Regions from separate parts of the Homo sapiens genome. Here all the other regions are linked to region 3. Evidence: promoter capture Hi-C in 16 types of primary human blood cells and fetal thymus (Javierre and others, 2016). All regions are on one chromosome and are shown on one strand. The core of a region is centred on a gene start or on the middle of the fragment in contact, and the rest is flanking DNA. Distances in the headings are between cores, read along the strand shown.

Evidence for each region. Contacts are between HindIII fragments. The CHiCAGO score rates a contact against its expected background, and 5 or more counts as called.
Region 1: a contact is called between a fragment that was not itself captured here and the fragment with the promoter of GARIN1A in region 3, in 1 of 17 cell types (M1 macrophages). The highest score is 5.4, in M1 macrophages.
Region 2: a fragment that was not itself captured here is called in contact with the fragment with the promoter of GARIN1A in region 3 in 1 of 17 cell types (endothelial precursors); the score reaches 5.8 in endothelial precursors.

Annotation. Positions count from the first base shown.
Region 1 is chr7:128,820,243-128,822,965 of GRCh38, reverse strand. It overlaps CCDC136 (coiled-coil domain containing 136), which reads right to left. Exons shown (of 18, transcript NM_022742.5): 18 at 836-1,167. Among named protein-coding and RNA genes, the nearest start is that of FLNC, 8.8 kb to the left of the region's middle. The HindIII fragment of the contact is 2,105 bases long and covers 419-2,523 here.
Region 2 is chr7:128,860,149-128,862,848 of GRCh38, reverse strand. FLNC-AS1 (FLNC antisense RNA 1) reads left to right here and starts at 223. Exons shown (of 4, transcript NR_149055.1): 1 at 223-324. RefSeq lists enhancers at 1-189, 270-379. The HindIII fragment of the contact is 1,469 bases long and covers 557-2,025 here.
Region 3 is chr7:128,670,880-128,673,579 of GRCh38, reverse strand. GARIN1A (golgi associated RAB2 interactor 1A) reads right to left here and starts at 1,288. Exons shown (of 5, transcript NM_001128926.4): 1 at 1,030-1,288. The coding sequence starts at 1,182. RefSeq lists a silencer at 367-426. The HindIII fragment of the contact is 20,881 bases long and covers 1-1,774 here.

The sequences.
Region 1 (2,723 bases), core at 222-2,721, 150 kb before region 3:
TATCCTCATCATTCTACTTGTCCCAATTAGATCCATCTTCAGGCCTCTGTCCTGCTCTAAGCTCCAGGAGGCTGAGCTTGAAAGATTACATCACCTGGGCACCTCTGCGCTTTGTCTTCCCATTGAGTTCAGCTGATAAGGTACCAGTAGAATACTGGCAGGTGGGAGGAGAAGGTAGGGGAATATATATCCCACTTCCTCACGGCTCTGGCGGGGGCTGCACCCCATGTGGCTGCCACTCCTGCCTGGGGCCCATTTTCAGAGCTCCAGCTCTTGCTTCCTTTCCTTCCTGCTTCAGCCTGGGATGCTAACAGCTTTACACTGTTGCTAGTGCCTGGTACTTCACTATTTTTTGTTGCTTCTCCTAACTCTGCCTTTGGTACATAGTCTCTTCATTAAACTCTCTTCATGTAAAGCTTTGAGTGTGCCACCTGTTTACTGCCAGGACCCTGGCTGATTAAAGTCATCTCTGAGGGCGAATCCCTTGAGAAGTCACAAAGGCTAAGTCACGAAGGCACACACGTGGATCTTCTTAGGGCGGCCTTCTCATGTAGATAGGTGTGGGCACAGAACCTTAGGGGAGGTCTCCCCAGCCCTCAGTCACTCCATTTCTCCATGCTCAGGAGAGCACCTCAGGATGGGGTTAATAAGCACAGACTAACCCCTCTGTGAGTCAGTCGACAGCACAAGGGGCTAGCCTCATTTCTGAGGCCATCTGCAAGGTGAGAAGCCGCATTTAGGAGTCAGACCCTTATGTGAGGTACTTGGTTAAAGGGGGACTGCTCTGTTCTGGTTGTGTTGTGAGGCATTTAGCAAATAAAAATCCACAGTCTCATGTAATTCAGTTGATATTTAATTACAAGGAACTCAGGTTCTTACACAAGGCAGGAGATGGAAGTCAGCCGCTCCCCACAAGCCTTTTCAGCCTGGGTGACTGAGGCTGAGGAGATGGGGACACATGGAACATATGGGGAGGGTTCTGGCACAGTGTGTCCTGCCCAAAGCTGAGGGTGGTGGCCACTGGGGATCTGCCCTCGCGCTGGCCAAGGTCTGCCATCACTCCATGAGGCAGAACTCTGACTCCTGCTGTCGCATGTTGGGTAACACATACAGAGCCACAGCTGCAATAGCCAAGAATACCATAGGCTTCCACAACCCAAACATGTTCTGTGGGGACCAAAGAGAAACTGTGAGTGCCCAGCCTCCTGAACCCTGCCCTAAGCCAGAAGTCACCTGCCTATGGGTGCCCAAGACACCTCAGGAACATTGTGGATCAGTCTCTGTTACCTCCTGGGTAACCGGTGGAGGTAAGTGATCTCTCAGTCCTGGCACCACTAGACATGTGGCCCAACACTGTACGCACCACCTTAGGTGACCGCCTGTATTCAGGCCTCCGTTTCTCCCCATGGGCTGAGAATACTAGCTCCCATGTGAAGAAGCAGGCTCAGGGGCCAGACTTCCAAGTGGTTGCAATGAGAAAGGACTGGATGCCATGGCAAGAAAGAGGAGGGGAAATCTGGGGCTTTGAGAAAAGCAGCAGCACCTCATTAGTTTCACTGCAGTGAAGTGAACTCAGAGTCAAGAGGATGGGGAAGGGGGAATAAGGCTGAGGGGAAATGAAGAAAGTGCACCACGGAGTGCAGGTAAGTAGGAGGTTCTTAGGCAGACAAACTTTGACAGAGAATGACATTGGTTCAAGGAAATTTAAGGAAACCTGTCACTGGGCCTAGGTCATTAGAACACTCCTAATCACCAGGTATGTTGACTGACTTCCTGGTGCATGTGCTAGAGTATGCTGAGGCTTCCAGACACTGCCGGCCACTAGGGAACCCTGCTGATTCATGGGACAAGTGGCACCATCGAAGATATCCAAAAAGCATCCATTAGGTAATATGAAAATCTTAGACAAGAAAATACATACTTGGGGAAATAGGTTTTATTTTTATTACTTTTTTACTCTACTAACTGAAAGGTAGAATTTGGATTTTGAGTCATAAGCTATGGCATAGGTAACAGAAGGATGGTTTCAAGTAAAAATGGAATATAGCCCATTAATGCTAAGAACACATTTTCTCAGATGATAATTGATCTAAAAAGAGGACTTTAAGCCTGCTAAAGAGCAAAGAAAATCTCCTGAGCTTATAGAAATAGCTACTAAGAACAACAGAAGGTATGAAATGGAAAGCCAAGCAATGTTACAGGTGGATATACAGAGTAACTCATGTAAGAAAACCAAGAGATCCGGAGGCTGAGGGAGGAGGATCGCTTGAGACCGGGAGTTCAAAGTTACAGTGAGCCATGATCATGCCGCTGCACTCTAGCCTCGGTGACAGAGCGAGACCCTGTCTCTAAAACCAAAAACAAAAACTAAGAAGGGAGCTAGCTAGAAAAAAATATTTATATGCTCAGATGCCTCTATCCTAATGTGCATTGCTAAGAATGTTAGTCTGGTGTTCTTAAAGGAGGGAGGAGCTGAAATCCTTAAATGTGACCCGTGCACCTCACACTGGGCAAAGGCAAGCTTCTACATGGGATGGGGAAAGGGCTGGTGTGGGTGTCCCAAAGGGGAAGTCGTGTCAAACTCTCCTTTTAAACTAGGTGACCTAAGTGACAAATCACCGGAATCATGTTTTTGGACGTTGAGTTGTTTGACAGAATTTTCTATGATCTTTGCAGATAATATGCAGAAATAAGGGTAGGATGACAGTACAGTTTGTTGAATG
Region 2 (2,700 bases), core at 42-2,541, 190 kb before region 3:
CCGCCGTACGGCGCCCCGTCGGCCTCAACCCCCACCCTTCGAGCATGCGCAGTCCTCCCAGCCGCATTCCGGGACATGCGCATTAACAGCAACACGGCCTCCATGTGAATACGCCTGCGCCGTAAAGACAGGCCCGAACCAGGGGACTACGATTCCCAGAAGACCGCGCGGCACCACGTCCTTCGCGGGCATTCATTCGTTCATTCACTCGTTCCTTGGTTCATTCGTTCAACAAGCGCTTTGGACCTGACGCTGTTAGACGCCGAGACCCCAGAGAAGAGACGCAGTTACTCATCTCAAGGGCAGGGTCTGGGTCTTTATCGTGTATGTATGTGTGTAACTATGACACATAGTTAACAAGTAACACACGTTTGTTCAGTTAAAGGAATGCAAAAGTTAATGATGATACTGCCTAGTGAGGTGGAAAGTCAAGGGAACAGGCGACTACAAAGCTGTGTGTTAATGGTTAGAATGTGAAAAGTATATGGAAGCACACATCCATGGTAACTAACCCATGGAGAGAGGGGGCGTCCAAAGAACCCTTCCCCAAGAAGCTTGCTTCAGATCTAAGCTGAGACCTGAAGGACCTGCAGGATGAAGGGGATAGAAGTGAGGACAAGACGGTGTTCTAGGCAGAGGAACAGCATGTGCAAAGGCGTACTGACTAGAGAGCGTAGGGCCTTCAAGGAAAGTTAAATAATTGGTAAGGCCAGGCATGGTGGCTCACGCCACACCTGTAATCCCAGCACTTTGGGAGGCTGAGGCAGGTGGATCACCTGAGGTCAGGAGTTTGAGACCAGCCTGGCCAACATGGCGAAAACCCGTCTCTACTAAAAACACAAAAAATTAGCCGGGCGTGGTTGTGGGCGCCTGTAGTCCCAGCTACTCGAGAGGCTGAGGCAGGAGAATTGCTTCAACCCGGGAAGCGGAGGTTGCAGTGAGCCGAGATTGTGCCATTGCACTCCAGCCTGGGTGACAGAGCGAGACTCTGTCTCAAAAAAAAAAAAAAAAAAAAAAAAAAAAAATTAGCCAGGCGTGGTGGTGCACACTTATAGTTCCAGGTACTCGAGAAGCTGAGGCAGCAGGGCTTACTCAGGAGTTCAAGGTTACAGTGAGCTATGATCACGGCACTGCACTTAAACCTGAGCAGCAGAGCGAGACCCTGTCTAAAAAAAAAAAAAAAGGATCTGCAGGCTGGGCGCGGTGGCTCACGCCTGTAATCCCAGCACTTTGGGAGGCTGAGGCGGGTAGATCACCTGAAGTCAGGAGTTTGAGACCAGTCTGGCCAACATGGTGAAATCCCATCTCCACTAAAAATACAAAAAAAATTAGCCCAGTGAGGTGGTGTGTGCCTGTAGTCCCAGCTACTCGGGAGGCTGAGGCAGGACAATTGCTTGAACCCGGGCAAGGGAGGTTGCAGTGAGCTGAGATGGCGCCACTGCACTCCAGCCTAGGTGACAGAGTGAGACTCTGTCTAAAAAAAAAAAAAAAAAAAAAAAAAGATCTGGAAGTTATCCTGAGGACAGTTATCCTGAAGCTGCTGAGGGATTTCAAGTAAGAGAGTGCTATCGCCAAACTTACGTTTTAGAGCTGTCACTCACTGTTGACTGTGCTGTGTGCAGAGGCGAAACTGAGGGAGGAGAAACCAAATTGGGAGGCCACTGTGAGAGATAATGGTGGCCAGGACTCAGGTGGTGATAATGGGAAACGCAGAGAAGTAGGTAGAGCCGAGAGATATTTAGATATTTAGGACAAAACTGGTTTCAGAGTGGATGTGTTTGGGGAGTGAGGTAGAGAGAGAGACCTGGGTGATTTCCAGGTTTCTGGCCTGTGCAGCACATGGATGGGAGTAACATTGCCAAGAAAGTGACCTCTGTAAGATGAGCAGGCTGAAGGGGAAGGAGCCACTCTTTCCTCCTCCCTTTTAACAAATCAGCACTCCCGGTGTCTGGCATGGGGTTTGTGAGTTTGGAGTGCTTGAGACGTGCCCGTGGTCTGGTCTAGCGATTGTATGTGTGATAAGCTTGGGATTCGGGCACACCTGGGTTTCAATCTGTGCCCCACTACTTAAAGGTACGGTTTCAGACTCATCACTGAAATTCCCAGGGCCTTGGTTTCTTCAGATGGTAGTAGCCCCACCTCATAGGGCTGTTATGAGGATTAATGAGGAAGGGCCTGTAAGGCTCAGCACCCAGGGCCACACTGTGGCTGGCTGGAAGCAGGCAGGCTGGAGGTCTGTGAGCTTATCAGCCACACACAGGTGGAGGCAGCCGAAGCTGAGGGGGAAATTAGCACATCTAGGGGTGAGGGTGAGGGTGAGGGGGGCAGAGAGTGAGGATGGGTGTGTGGGAGGGTGTGAGGGAAGAGGGAGGAAGCACAGAGCCTGGTGAGAGAGGTGGGGAGGTCAGGGATTAGGAGTTGGGGACTCGTGGGTTTTTCTGCCAAGCCCACCACCATGTGCTGAAATGCCCAGGTGGGTCTAGATTGTGGGATCAGTTGAATGAAAGACTTCTTTTCCCTGCTGCAGCTACTCAGCTGCTCATTTATTCATTCATACCCATTCACTCACTCATTCACACCCAGGGCCAGGGAGCTCCATCTGGTGGGGAGCCGTGGATACATGGCCACAGCTCAGGGTCGTAACTGCAACTAGAGATGTGTCCCAGGGCAGTTTGGGAGCTGGGGGCACTGATCCAGGAG
Region 3 (2,700 bases), core at 39-2,538:
TTTCCCATTCCATTTGAATGGGTCTGTGTCTTGCAGACCTTGCATTCCAGCCTCCCTGCCTTTCCTTAGGTACTTTGAAGCCCCTCTGTCTGGGATATCCTCCCCGCTGCTCTTCCACTTACCAAAATCTCAGCAGTCTCTCAAAGAATGGCTTAAGACCCTTCTGGAAAGCCTTCTTCAACTGCCAAAGTCCAGAGAGAATGCCTTGAATGAATGCCCCCAGCACCTGCTCTCTGCAGTCATGCCTGGTGCATCAGCTGGCCCAAGCTCTCTGACATAGAGCTTGCTTAGACAGTTACCAAATAACAGGTAAACCAAACTCATAGGCTTCCTGGCCAGGGACACTCTGATTTTTCTCTGCACCTCCTGCCCTGCACTCAGTAGATGTTTAGTGTGTGCTTACTGGCTGATTAACTGGTTATGCTCTCCTGCGCAGGAGCATGGGTTCAGGCTAGACCGCTAGAGGGAGGCAGGCAGCACCCGCGTTAAGACTTGATACTTACGAAAACGACCACCTTCCACTCCCAGTGGCCCCATCCCAGGCTCACTTCCATTGGTCATGTCACCACCATCCTTTTAGGGAATGGTAGGATCTGGGCAACACCTATTTACCCAGTGTCTTTGCTTTCAAACAAGGCTGTTTCTAAACCATCCCAGACTGAGGAGGATGGATTTCAGAGCAGAGTTTCTAACAGCAACCTTCATTCCCTGTAACCATCCACTTTGGACAAGTGGCCCAGAAAGGGCCTGTGAACCCTGCCTGGAGACTGAGCTCTGATCTCTCATTTGTAAAGCATAAATCAATTTCCCTAGAACAGATGACCTGCAGGTAGCTCTATCATACGGTAGGCACAAATGGAGGTGAACTTGGGACCCAGACCTTCTGGTTTTCTCTAGCTTTGGTGGCTTCTTTGTCCCCCCGCCCCCCCCTCCCCCAGGGCTTTAAAAGGCCACAGCATCTCCTAACCAACCCCTAGGAACAGGTTTTGGAAACAGAAAGACAGCTGGCCCTGAGCTCCACGAGGGTACCTGGATAAAGTTGCTTTCAAACACCACCGAGTTGGAGAACAAATTGAATTCTGGAGAATGAATCAGTTGACAAAGAAGGCCATTTTCCACCCCAAGTTCCACTCCAGGGCCTGGTTCCCTGACCTCAGGTGGGAGGCCCCTGATTTTACTCATTGGTTCTTGGTAAGAATGGGCTTGGGAACATTTCTGGGGCTCCACGCCGACCCAGCCCAATGCCAGGATGTTGATGTGATCTGCCCCCACCTCCCCAGCATTTCCTCCCCATTTACTTACGGGCTGTCCACCAGGGCTGGGAGGGCCTGTCAGCTCACAATGGCAGGAATGACATCAAGGAATGTGATGGTGACAACAGAAAAGGGAAAAAAAAAAGAAGAGGAAGGACAGAGGATGTGCCAGGCTCTTTTCTCCCTCTTTCCACCAACTACAAACCAGCAGTAATGCAGCCTATTCCACTTTGTAAACATTCAGCCTTACCCCACATGGAAAAAATGACCCTCCCAAAGTTATGCCAAGGCAGCAGTGAGCTGGCCAGATGCAAGGAAGGCTCTCGGGAACATACAGGCTTTAATCCTCTTGGCTCCCCTTGAAGCCCCTCACCAAACTTCCATGGGACTTGTTCACCTGCCCAGGGAAGTCTAAGGATAGGAAAAAGGGAGTTCATCTTCCCTACCCCATCTCATGGGAGAAAAGGAGATTTTTTTTTTTTTTTAAAGAAATGGACACCTGTTAACTAAACTGAGAAGCTTATTTATTTGGAAACAGTGGGCAAAGGAGAAGGCAGTGGCACAGTTGTATGCTGGAGCCAGACCAAAACAGGTCACGAGAGCTGGTTGTTACATTTTCAGGAATGCTACAAACCAGTTGTTAAACACAGCAATTATTAAAACTTTTTTTTTTTTTTTTTTGAGACAGAGTTTTGCTCTTGTTGCCCAGGCTAGAGTGCAGTGGCGTGATCTCGGCTCACCACAACCTCCGCCTCCCATCTTCAAGCAATTCTCCTGCCTCAGCCTCCCGAGTAGCTGGGATTACAGGCATGCACCACCACACCCGGATAATTTTGTATTTTTAGTAGAGACAGGGTTTCTCCATGTTGGTCAGGCTGGTCTGGAACACCTGACCTCAGGCGATCCACCCACCTCGGCCTCCCAAAGTGCTGGGATTACAGTCATGAGCCACCAAGCCCAGCCTTTAAAACTTAAATGATATAAACTTGGCTGGGCTTGGTGGCTCATGACTGTAATCCCAGCACTTTGGGAGGCCGAGGTGGGTGGATCGCCTGAGGTCAGGTGTTCGAGACTAGCCTGGTCAACGGGTGAAACCCCGTCTCAACTAAAACTACAAAAATTAGCCGGGTGTGGTGTGGGTACCTGTAGTCCAGCTACTTGGGAGGCTGGGGCAGGGCGATCGCTTGAATCTGGGAGGTGGAGGTTGTGATGAGCCAAGATGGTGCCACTGCACTCCAGCCTAAGCGACAAAGCAAGACTCTGTCTCAAAAAAAAGAAAAGAAAAGAAACAGTATACAGTGGTGGGCTGCTGCATATCTCTTCCCAGGGTGTGTTCAGGAACTTCATCTTGTTAGCTAGCTTGAAATCAGCAAGTGCTACAAATCAGGGTTTGATTTATTGTTCTGTTGATTGTCTAAACTAAAGTGATAGAGAAAATGTTAATTAT